3 separate regions of the Homo sapiens genome follow, and all the other regions are linked to region 2. The links are contacts of gene promoters, found by promoter capture Hi-C in blood cells and fetal thymus (Javierre and others, 2016). All regions are on one chromosome and are shown on one strand. Each heading gives the region's core, a stretch centred on a gene start or on the middle of the fragment in contact. The rest is flanking DNA. Distances are from core to core; before and after follow the strand shown. Region 1 overlaps LOC101929154 (a long non-coding RNA gene). Region 2 holds the start of OTP (orthopedia homeobox). Region 3 overlaps LOC101929154 (a long non-coding RNA gene).

Region 1 (3,446 bases), core at 518-3,017, 320 kb after region 2:
CTTTCTTTCTTTTTCTTTCTTTCTTTTTTTTTTTTTTTTCTGAGACACGATCTCACTCTGTTGTTCAGGCTGGAGTGCAATGGCACAATCACGTCTCACTGCAGCCTGGACCTCCCAGGCTCAAGTGATCCTCCTGCCTCAGCCTCCTGAGTAGCGGGGACTGCAGGCGTGTGCCACTATGCCCAGCTAATTTTTGTATTTTTGGGGTAGAGAGGGGGGTCTCACTGTGTTGCCCAGGCTGGTCTCGAACCCCTGAGCTCAAGAGATCCTCCCACCTTAGCTTCCCAAAGAGCTGGGATTACAGGCGTGAGCCACCGCGCTGGGCATTAGGAAGTATTTGTTATGAAAAGACGGTTGCTGCCACCCAACGCTGTTGAGAATCGCTATCAAGACGCGTGTCCTCAAGTTCAATTTCCAAAATTTCCTGGAAACTGTTTTATGTTACTTCACTGTCAGAAGACCCAGCACGGGTATGCGAAGGGAGGTCTGAGAGCCTCAGAAACAACACGTAAAACACACACACGCACACACCCCCCCAACCAAACCACCCCGTCCTCTGGGGAAGAGGGTCCCTCTGCCTGATTCCCTGGAGATGGCTCCCCGCCCAGGGCCCAACTCTCTTCTCCTGGACGCCATCTCCCCGGAGCTGGGGGCCTCGGCTCCGCAACGGCTGCGAAGTTTCACCGATGCCGCAGGCCTAAGGCCACCCTTGGTCCCAAACCCAGCGCCGGGACGCGCGCCCCAGCCCCATCGGAGCTGCCATGGCCCCATGATTAGGGCCACGGTGGCCCCTGACTTTCTCTTATTAATGTTTTTTTTTAATTGTAAATCATTACTCAGCTCAGCTCAGTCACCAGGCAAACTGTGTTTAATAAATTAGCTTAATCTATTCCGCAAGTGGTTTGTGAGTGCTGTGTTTCCTCTGGTTAAGGAAAACATTTATATTCTCTCTCCTTGCCCAGCGTTCCTGGGCTCCCGGAGTCGCTACCCAGGCCGGGCGCACGGGGAGGCCTGGAGCGGGAGGCTCTCGGCCCGCCGCTCGCGGGAACCCCCACCTCGGGCGGCCGGGAGGGCAGTTGGTGGCGGCGTGGCCTCTTTGTCCCCGTCAGCCCGAGGCGGCGCTGGTGCCCACCCGGCCTCCCCGTGGCCCAGCCCCGCGCCTCCGCCCCGGGCAGCGCGCATTCCCCTCTTCCAGAGGGGCCTCTTTAACGGCTCCCCATGAAATAATCATTCATTATGTCACCAGGAGGGAAGAAAGGGAGTGTAAGTGTCTTGATGGGATTAGAGGAAACCCCCGCAGAGATGATTTAGGGGCCGTGATAATTCATTTAATAGGGGCCTGGGGCAAATTGCTAGACAGGGAAATGGAACTGAAGCAGCTCGAAAGGGCGCCCGGCAAGGCTGTGGCGGGGGAGCCGGCTTCATTAGCAATATTTAAGAGATTTCATTTAAGAATGAGTCATAAAATGCAGTACTATTTTATCCACCTGGTTTGGTGGCCTTTAGCTTTCCTCTGCATGAATATTAAATGTGAAATGGCACTACAGCAACACATTTTGGAAAGTGTTCTTTAGGCTGTTATTTGTATGGTTGGTTTAGTTTCTCGTTTGTTAACCTTTTAAAATGAATATCATTGAAAATGGATAACTGTACAACCAGAGCTCGAAAAACATTAGGGGGAGTATAATGCTTTAGAATAGGTTGTTACTAAACTGGGTAAAGGATTTAAGTTTTTATTGATCAAAACACAAAAGGCATAGAGAGCAAGTCAGTAAATGGCAAATTACTTTGACAATTCCCAATTTTCATGCAGATTTTGTGAAGCTGTCCCATTCAAAGCCACCCCCAGAGGCCCGGAGGAGACCACAAAGCTGCGAACACAGCCGGGACCTGCCCACTGACACACTGAAGAGTCAACACGATTCAGGAAAGCACTTTCAAAGAGTGTTTTATCTTGGACAGATAATATTCCGTTTTGTTTCTGAGAGGCAATGACAATCTCTAGTTCGATTGTAAAACTATTTCCTTCAAATATACATTTTTATCTATGGAGAGTGGTGTTATTTGGGGTTTTACAAACCTAAGAAGTTTACATTTGGCAACAGTGATTGTTCCCATTACAACTACAATGTAAAAAAACAGATTCTCTTTTGGTGTGCATCCTCCCCTCTTTGGTTTCGAGGGTGACTTTCCCACGCATATCTGCCACTCACTTGGGAAGTCCTAGTCTGGAAACATTTTAGCAAATACGTAACCATCGTTCCATTGTGGCCCACACATTTGCCTGACCTGACATTCTTCCCCAAAACTCTTATATTTGCAAACTAAAACATTAGCTCTTGATTCCCTCCTCTTCCACCTTTTAAAACTAAAAATAGCTCTTCCAGATAGGCTGTTTTCATTTTTTTTTTTTTTTTAATCGCAGCTGCACTCTGTTATTTTAACAAAACAACTGGCAGGTCTCTATTCACAGAGCTGCTTTAGCCACATAGGATACATAAGATGCATAATCAATATGTTCTTTAAAAGACTCTCTTAATCAGAAAAGATGCTAACTACATGTAAAATTATTCACTTACATATATTGGTTTGTGCAATTTTCCACAGTGACAGTAAAGTTGGTAGCTAAATATGTTTTTATACATAACAAAACTTAGCGAATGTCTTTTGTAAGGCATGCATTGTGAGGGTAGTATTAATATTTGTGTTTCTACGTTTATATTCCACCATCCCCTAGTAAAGATGTTCTATTTTATACAGAGTTGTAAACCACTTTGAAATATAGTGAGATGCTCTATTTTGAATAAAATCAGGTTACTGATGTACTAAATAGGCAGCGTCTGGACAAAAGCAAGCCTCACTGAAGGTGGGTTAGTTCCCTCTAGAGCCTGTCCCCAGTCCTGAGTTCTCAGACTTTTCTCAGTGTTTCCCTTTAGTGAAAAGGAGCCAGGATTAGCCATGAGCAGTCATGGTCAATGTTCTGAGAAGTTTTGAGAAGGAAACTCCTCTTCAGCAAAAGAACTTTCATTCTCTCCTTCTTCCTGTGAAATGGCACTCTAAAGGTGACCAAGGCAACCCAAAGAAAGATACCTGTTTGCAACATCTATTTTTGCTTTTCAGAAATAGGATTTAGTTGCCAATTAGAAAGCCAGAAAGCAAAGAAGATCCCTGCACTGCCACTTAGAATGGTTATAGCCACACACTAGCAGAAACTGAAAGATTCATCGGAAAACAACCCCCAATCCTTGGCCTTGCATTTAAATGTGAATGGGGCTGTGTGTCTACCCTGCCTTCTTGCTTTCCTTCCTTTACATGATTCCTGCCATGTCTAAAGCAGGCATACCCATACTGTTGAATCTTGGAGTAACTGACAGTGTCCAAATGATACCCTGGATTTAAACAGTTTCAAGCACAGTAGACACATTGTCACCAGACAGCCAGTGGTG
Region 2 (3,900 bases), core at 853-3,352:
TACTGGCCGGAGACGGGCCTTGCGTGTCCATTGGGGGATGGCGATGGGGACCAGTTTCCGGGTAGAGAAGGAGATAACTCGATACAGGAACGCACAGGCAGCCTGAAAGCAGCCCAGGATCTCGACAGGGGAAGGGAAGACCCTGCTCCCTTTGCCCAAATCCTCCCGCCCTGTCCTTGCCTTCTGTCCCAGATCCCAAGCCCCTCGTACCTGCACTCGGGACTCGGTCAGCCCGATACGCAGTGCCAGCTCCTCACGCATAAAGATGTCGGGGTAGTGAGTCTTGGCGAAGCTCCTCTCCAACTCGTTGAGCTGTGCGGGGGTGAAGCGCGTCCGGTGGCGCTTCTGCTTCTGTTGGCCCTGCTGCTGGCCGGCTTGGCTGGGGTTCGGGCCGCCCTGGGGCCCGGGCTGCTTGTCCGGGTCTTTGGCGCTCACCGCCAGCGAGGCCGGAGTAGAGCCCACTGTGGTGATGTCCTCCCCGGGCAGCAGAGTGGCTCCCTCCACTGGGTCAGAGTTGGGCGCCAGGTCCCCCGGATGGCCCCCGGGGTCGGAGCCCCCCACGCCCAGCCTACACTTCACCGCCTCCCGGTGGCCCAGAAGCTCGGCGGCATCTTTCATACCTGAGGAGGCAAGGGGATCGCGGTCACTACTTTCTTGGCGATGCCAGGAGGGGCTGTCTTCCCCGCGCAGCCTTCCTTCAACCCGTCCTCGGCCCCCTCCGCACCCGCGCTTGTCCTAAGGAAGAAACTCCCAGGGTATTCAGCTGGGTTCCCCAGAATTTGGACAGCCGGGTTGGAATAATATCTCCCGGCCCCTTGCCCTCGCCGCAGCCGGCTCCCGTAGTAAACAGCACAAGCTTTCGTCTCTCCCACAATAAAACACTCCCAGTCCCGGCAATAAAACATGCCTCTGAATCCCTTCCATAAACCGTACCCCAGGCGCCCCAGGAAATCGAGAGCAAATCTTTGGACACAGGGGTGCGGGGGGCAGAAAGAAAATTAAACAATTCCTCGGTTGCTGCGGCACCTGCGCTTCGGCAGCCTGACGAACTGTACCTCCGGCCCTCAGCCGATTCCCTCTTACTTTCGGAAGATGAATAAGCCTCCAAGCTTTCACCCCCCGAAATCAACCCAAATCAGCTCCGCCTCCCCCTCAAATCAGAGAAAGTGTTTGGAAAATGGAGTCACATCCATCACCGAAGATTCCCAATCCGGAAACCCAGAGCTCAGCAACCCAGATAGCATTAAGGAAACTCGAGTGAACTCTATGGACAACCGTGAATCAAACTTTAGAGATTTCAACTTTTCTTTCCAGAGAAATAAAAGGCGCATTCCTCACAGCCATTGGCAACGCTGAGTCCCTTGCAGAAGAGGGGGGGATGACTGTGAGGTTGAATTTGGCTTCTCTCCTTCTCAACCAGCACACTTAGCAAATCCGCCTTGATGGCAGCAGCTTCTCCTTTATGCCAGATTTTTTACAAATTACACCACACTTAGAAAAGGAGGAGAGAAGAAGATGGTGGGGAGAGAGAAACGGGGGGAGGGAAGGAGAAAGAAATCCCAAATCAAAACAAACAGGAGAGGGAAAAAAGAGAGAGAAACACCTCCTAACAAATTATCACGGGGTATATCGCCTTTCGAAAAAAAAAAAAAGGCGGGGGAGGGGGGAAGAGAAAAATAAGAAAAACAAAAAGTAACAACATTCCCCAACTCCTTTCTTGGATCTACATATTCCATAGATTTTTTTTTAAAGGCGATGTTAAATCAAATTAAACTTTAATGCAGCACAATTACTTTTAAAGAAATTAGTCCATTTAGGTCGCATTAAGGTAAAATAAGGAACAAATTGACAATTTCCTGCCCCGGCTTCTCCTGGCTGCCCGGGCGAGAGGCGCGCACTCACCTAGCCTGGCGTCCAGGAGGTCGGCATGAGACAGCATCGCGCACCGCTCCAGGGCGAAAGCTGTTCCCCCCCAAATTTTAGCGGCTTTAAGTTATTTAAAATAGATATAAGCTATAAGCTATACGATATAGATATATATAGATCACCTAAATGAAAGAAAATTCGGTTTGTGGTTAAAAAGGGGGCTTCTTGCATTATAATGTCCTTTAGAGAGACGGGGAGGTGCTTAACAGTTGAATGAACCCGTGAGCAGCTCGGCGAGGGGACCAATCAGGAGGGCAGCCTGCAAATGTCAGCGCCCGGAGAGTCCCCCACTCCGCCCGCCCGCTCGCCTGCGCCCGCCTGAAGGAGGCGGCGGCGGCAGCCCTGGCAGCTCCAGCCCGGAGCAGGAGCTAAAGCAGCCTCAGCCGCCTCGGCCTCGCCCTGAGCTTCTGGGCCCGGCTCCCTCTAGTTCTTCCCTGCGATTTTCTCCAGGCTCCCCTTTCCTTCCCCTTGGCCGGCGCTGCGCGCTTCGAAGGCGTAGCTCTGTGCCTCTGAGCTAACATCTTCCTAGGGCAGGGGCAGAGCAGGGGTCAGAGCGGGCCATGACCCTGGCGTGACCTGAGGGTCGCCCCCACCTGCGCTCTCTGGGCCTGCCGCTCATATTGGCCCGCCAGCCCAGGGCGCGACGAGGGCACACCGCGGCCTTCAGACAACGCCTGGACTTCGCCGCGGCTCAGTAGGCCTGCGCCTAGGGTCCAGGCGCCCTGGCTGTGCCCTGGGGTCTATACGAGCCCCAACCCCACAGTGGGCCTAGAGCGCAAAGAGGAGTCGGCTTCCCTGGCACCGCCAGCGCCCGCTGTCTGCTTTGGGGACCCTCGCGGAGTGTGGGTTCGAGCGCTCTGCACTCTTCTCACCGGGCTTCTTCCCGGCTCCTGCTCTTCCGCTTGGCCCACGCCCGCATCCTCGCCCCTAACTCGCTCTTTTGGTCAAAGTTTCTAAGTTCAGCTCGGCTCCCAACTCCACTTAAGGCTGTAAATAAAGTTAAATGCTCTTTATTTTCCTCTTGAATATGTTAAACTACTTGAACAATTTAAAGTGCTTTGCACAAGTGAAGCGAACCATTTCTAATGTTCTGATTTTTCAGAGCCAGCCAACAACAAAGTTTAGATTAGTAATATATTTCTAACCAGAGTAATTTTCAAGATCATTAGGCATTTATGTAATTAGTGCCAAATCTATAAGCTTTTATTACGATTATTAGAGTAAAATCAGTATAAATTTGTACTAATTTACTACTGTTTAGACTTGGCTGTCAAGCCTAGAGGTTCTTATTGTAAATGATAACTGAGGAAATTAAGTGCAAAATTCTGTACCATTTCTGATCTGCTCCTAAACAATCCGTTTCAATTGTATTTGTAGCAGAACATAATGCCCTTTTAAAGTTATTTGACTTGTATTTTTATTTGCAACACAAGAAAAATGCCCTCTACCCAGTCACAATGAAAACTGATATTTACTACTCCCAACTTGATTAACATTGATTTTTAATTCGAGAGTGATGCAATTAAGATTATTCATTTAGTGCAAATAAACCTTCCACAAAAGGGTGGCCCAATGAAGTCTGTTTTAAATAATACTGAGCAAATGGCTTTTTTTGTTCGCCGTCCAATTGACTTAGACAAAACATTGAAAATGCTGGCTGAGAGCAGATGCGAGAGGAATTGTGTGTGTGTGTGTGTGTGTGTGTGTGTGTGTGTGTGTCCTCAGCTGTATGTGTGACAGGGACCGAGCAAGGAGACAAAGGAGGCGGCAAAGCGAACTCTCGGGCAGTTTTGTTTCCTCCTTCCCTCCTGCAGCCCGTTCGCCTCCTCTCCTGCACACACACGTGCGCGCGCACACATATGCACACACGTGTGAATGCAGGGTATTGGCCACACCAGTTTCTTCTGAGCTGCGGAGACCGCTTCCCGGGAAGCTCCGGGCCGGACTGGGTTTCAGCGGCTGCTGCAGCTGCTA
Region 3 (3,784 bases), core at 1,149-3,648, 300 kb after region 2:
TATCAAAGACTAACTACGAACACCACCTTATATACACAGTGCTTTACAGCCTGCTAATCATTTTTGCAGACATTCTCCTTTTTGACTCTCAAGCCAGCTGAGACAGCTGTGGTATAAGTTGAAAGGGCACTGGAGTTTCTGTCAGGAGTTTTGACTTTCTTGGTTGCTTACTACCTTTGAAATCTTGAGCAAATCACTCTGAGCTTGTTTTTTGTCAGTAAAATACTTCTTGTTCTCAACCTAACTTGAAAAACAAATGAGGTGGTACATTTAAAAATAATAAATTATGAAGATAGTTACTCAAACTAATACTTGTACATGAATGTTTCTATCAGCACTATTCACAATAGCCAAAAGGTGAAAACACCAAAATCTCTAGCAACAGACGAATGGATAAACAAAATGTGGTATATCCAGACAATAGGATATTTGTCAACCATAAAGAGGAATGGGCCAGGCGCAGTGGCTCATGCCTGTAATTTCAGCATTTTGGGAGGCTGAGACTGGCAGATGATTTGCGGTTAGGAGTTCAAGACTAGCTTGGCCAACATGGTGAAACCCTGTCTCTGCTAAAAAATATAAACATTAGCTGGGTGAGGTGGTGGCGTGCACCTGCAATCCCAGCTACTTGGAGGCTGAGGCAGGAGAGTTGCTTGAACCTGAAAGGTGGAGGTTGCAGTGAGCCGAGATTGTGCCACTGCACTCCAGCCTGGGCAACAAAGTGAGACTCCGTCTCAGAAAAAAGAGGAACAAAGTATTGAAACATGCTACAGTGTGGCTGAACCCAGAAAACATTATGCTAAGTGAAAGAAGCAAGACACACAAGATCACATATTATATGATCCCATTTATATGAAATACTCAAAGTAGGTCAATCCATAGAGGCAGAAAGCAGATTGGTGGTAGCCAGAGGCTAGGAAGAAGCAGGAAGAGGGGGTGACTGCTTAGTACAGGGTTTTCTTTTGGGGTGATAAAAATGTTTTGGAACTAGATAGAGGTGGCTCTTGCCCAACATTGTAAGTGTACTAAATGCCACTGAATTGTACACTTCAAAGTGGTAAATTTTGTTATATGAATTTTACCTTAATGAAAAATAATAATAAATTATAAAGCACATGAAAATCTAATTAGCATTTCTCAGGGGAAAAACAGCCTCAGGAAGATTAAGTGACTTATGAAAGAACAGAAACTTTCAAAACGAAACAAAGAAGTTCATTCTGAGGGGAGAATGCCGGTCTTTTGACAGGCCAGGAAGGGCTTCTATCCTGCTCTGGGTAGGAATAGAAGTCTAAGCTCTTAAGATGTCACCATTCTCAGCTCTGAAATTTTGTTCTGACTCCCGTATCTCTTGCAAAACCCAATCCCCATAGCACTGTTTCCAGCCTCTTCTACTTATCAGTTCACAGCAAAAGGAAGACAAAATGATCATTTAGAATAAGGAGGTAAAGGGTCATTGGGAGACCAGAGAACTTCTCTCTTTATCTTGTCTAAAGAAAAAGAAGGTTCCTGAATACTGAGTGATAAATTGAGAAGATAGAAAGCTTTGTTAGAATAGAAGGGAATGAAATTAAAAAAAAAAAAAAAAAGAAATGAAAGCTTTGTTAGAGATGCATATCCCTCCCCAGTTCAACCGAAGCAGAATCTGCATTTTACCAAGATTCTCAGGTAATCCGTGTGCTCAGGAAAAGTTTGAGACACAGTGCTCCGGGCCACTAGACATGTAACAGAGTCTCTCCATAATGAAAATGAGGGTGTCGGAGATGTAAACAGTAAGTCATGTTGGACCTCTTAGGCCATTTGTTCTGAGTAGAATGTTAATTTCCATCATCTTTACCAACATCTCTGAAAAGCTTGTGAACGGTGGAGAAAGCACATGGGCTGTTCACCCAGTTACAACAAACTGCAGATATTCTTAGCCTCCATTATTCTGTACCCTGAAAACCATGATGTCACCTCTCCAGTTTCTAGTAATCTCTCTAGTTCACAGGTAAATGTCCAGCAAGGCATTATTAAATTACTAAACATCACAGCTACTGGAATCTTTAGGAGTCATCTGGCCAGCGTTCCCAAATGCTATTCCACGGATCAGTTCTGAGCTAGCTACATCAAAATCACCTGGGGTGCATTTCAAAAGCAGATCCCTAGGGTGTAGAATCTTCTCATTAAGTCTGGAAAGAAGCCATGAAATATGTTTTTAAAAAGCTCTCCAGGTGATTCTAATGCACAAATTTGGACACAATCTGTCTAGCTCTGCTCATGCATCCACAGCCACAGCCCAAATACCTTCAGAAACAGAACTTTCATTGCAGAGAGCTAATTGTCAGAAAGCTCTTTCCAACACATTGCGTCAATACCTGCCTCTATAATTTCTACCTTTTGTTCTGTCCTTTTGAGCCATACAAAATCATGTGAGTGTGTTTTTGATGTAGAATCTCTCTTTCACATGATACGACAGCTTTTCAAATGTCTGGTTCCACACACTGTGTCCATATGTCTTCTCTAATAATACTTTTTGCCTTGAAGTCTATTTTGTTTGGTAATAATGAAGCTACCAACTTTTTTCCCCTAGTCTTTTACTTTTAGTCTTACTGTTTCCTAATAATTTTGATTTGTCTGTTATAAGCAAAATACAGCTAGATTTTTAAAATTCAGTCTAATAATTTCTTTGAATTGGCAAGTTTAGGCAAATTACATACACATATTACTAATATGTTTGAAATTATTTCTACCATCTTATTCTACACTCTCTTTTATCCTATTTTTCTCTCTCTCTTCTTTTCTTTCCTGCATTCTGGCAGATGGGTTGAAGTTTCTTTGCCTTCCTTCCCTCTCCCTCCTTCTCTTCCCCAAGTGCCCTGGTTTTGGAAGTTGTATCAGCATCAGTAGGCATTTATAGAGGTTATTTTTTAAAAATTTTGAATAACATGAATATGTAACAAAATCTCAACAAGCTTTAAGAATAGTTATTATTCTTAAAAATTTGGCCCATGTGCTTACCAAAATCTAAAGTTAATCACTATCTATTCTGCCTCCTCAACAAGTCATGGAGCTTAGAACCCTTTACCTACAGGCCAGGCGCCGTGGCTCACGCCTGGAATGCCAGCACTTTGGGAGGCTGAGATGAGCGTATCACCGGAGGTCAGGAGTTTGAGACCAGCCTGGCCAACATGGTGAACCCTGTCTCTACTAAAAATACAAAAATTAGCTGGGTGAGCTGGGACCTGTAGTCCCAGCTACTCGGGAGGCTGAGGTAGGAGAATCACTTGAACCCAAAATACCCGAAAGGTGGAGGTTGCAGTGAGATGAGATGGCGCCATTGCACTCCAGGCTCCATCTCAAGAAAAAAAAAAAAAAAGGGACACTTTAACTTCAAGTAATCCCCTCCTGCTTTCCATATACCTGCTGTTCAATATTTTAAATTTAGTTTTTTTTTTTAATCCCCAGTAAATTACTATTGTTGCTGTTGCTTTATGTCAGTTATTCTTTGGACTCATTCACATATTTATTTGCTTCCTTTTTTTTTTTTTTCTTTTTGAGATGGAGTTTCGCTCTTGTTGCCCAGGCTGGAGTGCGATGGTGCAATCTCAGCTCACTGCAACCTCCGCCTCCCAGGTTCAAGCAATTCTCCTGCCTCAGCCTCCAGAATAGCTGGGATTACAGGCGAGCACCACCACGCCTGGCTAATTTTTTGTATTTTTAGTAGAAACGATATTTCACCATGTTAGGCAGGCTGGTCTCGAACTCCTGACCTCAGGCTCATCTCAGCCTCCCAAAGTGCTGAGAT

Evidence for each region. Contacts are between HindIII fragments. The CHiCAGO score rates a contact against its expected background, and 5 or more counts as called.
Region 1: a fragment that was not itself captured here is called in contact with the fragment with the promoter of OTP in region 2 in 4 of 17 cell types (naive B cells, total B cells, M2 macrophages and 1 more); the score reaches 6.2 in naive B cells.
Region 3: a contact is called between a fragment that was not itself captured here and the fragment with the promoter of OTP in region 2, in 1 of 17 cell types (M2 macrophages). The highest score is 5.1, in M2 macrophages.

The regions. Positions count from the first base shown.
Region 1 is chr5:77,957,047-77,960,492 of GRCh38, forward strand. It overlaps LOC101929154 (a long non-coding RNA gene), which reads left to right. Exons shown (of 2, transcript NR_105012.1): 2 at 1,814-2,050. Among named protein-coding and RNA genes, the nearest start is that of TBCA, 180 kb to the left of the region's middle. RefSeq lists enhancers at 171-682, 1,194-1,704, 1,705-2,215. The HindIII fragment of the contact is 4,643 bases long and covers 1-3,446 here.
Region 2 is chr5:77,636,611-77,640,510 of GRCh38, forward strand. OTP (orthopedia homeobox) reads right to left here and starts at 2,103. Exons shown (of 3, transcript NM_032109.3): 1 at 1,903-2,103; 2 at 211-620. The coding sequence starts at 1,939. RefSeq lists enhancers at 2,089-2,645, 2,646-3,200. The HindIII fragment of the contact is 2,017 bases long and covers 1,108-3,124 here.
Region 3 is chr5:77,936,478-77,940,261 of GRCh38, forward strand. The region is part of intron 1 of LOC101929154 (a long non-coding RNA gene); the gene reads left to right. Among named protein-coding and RNA genes, the nearest start is that of TBCA, 160 kb to the left of the region's middle. RefSeq lists a silencer at 651-820. The HindIII fragment of the contact is 1,101 bases long and covers 1,849-2,949 here.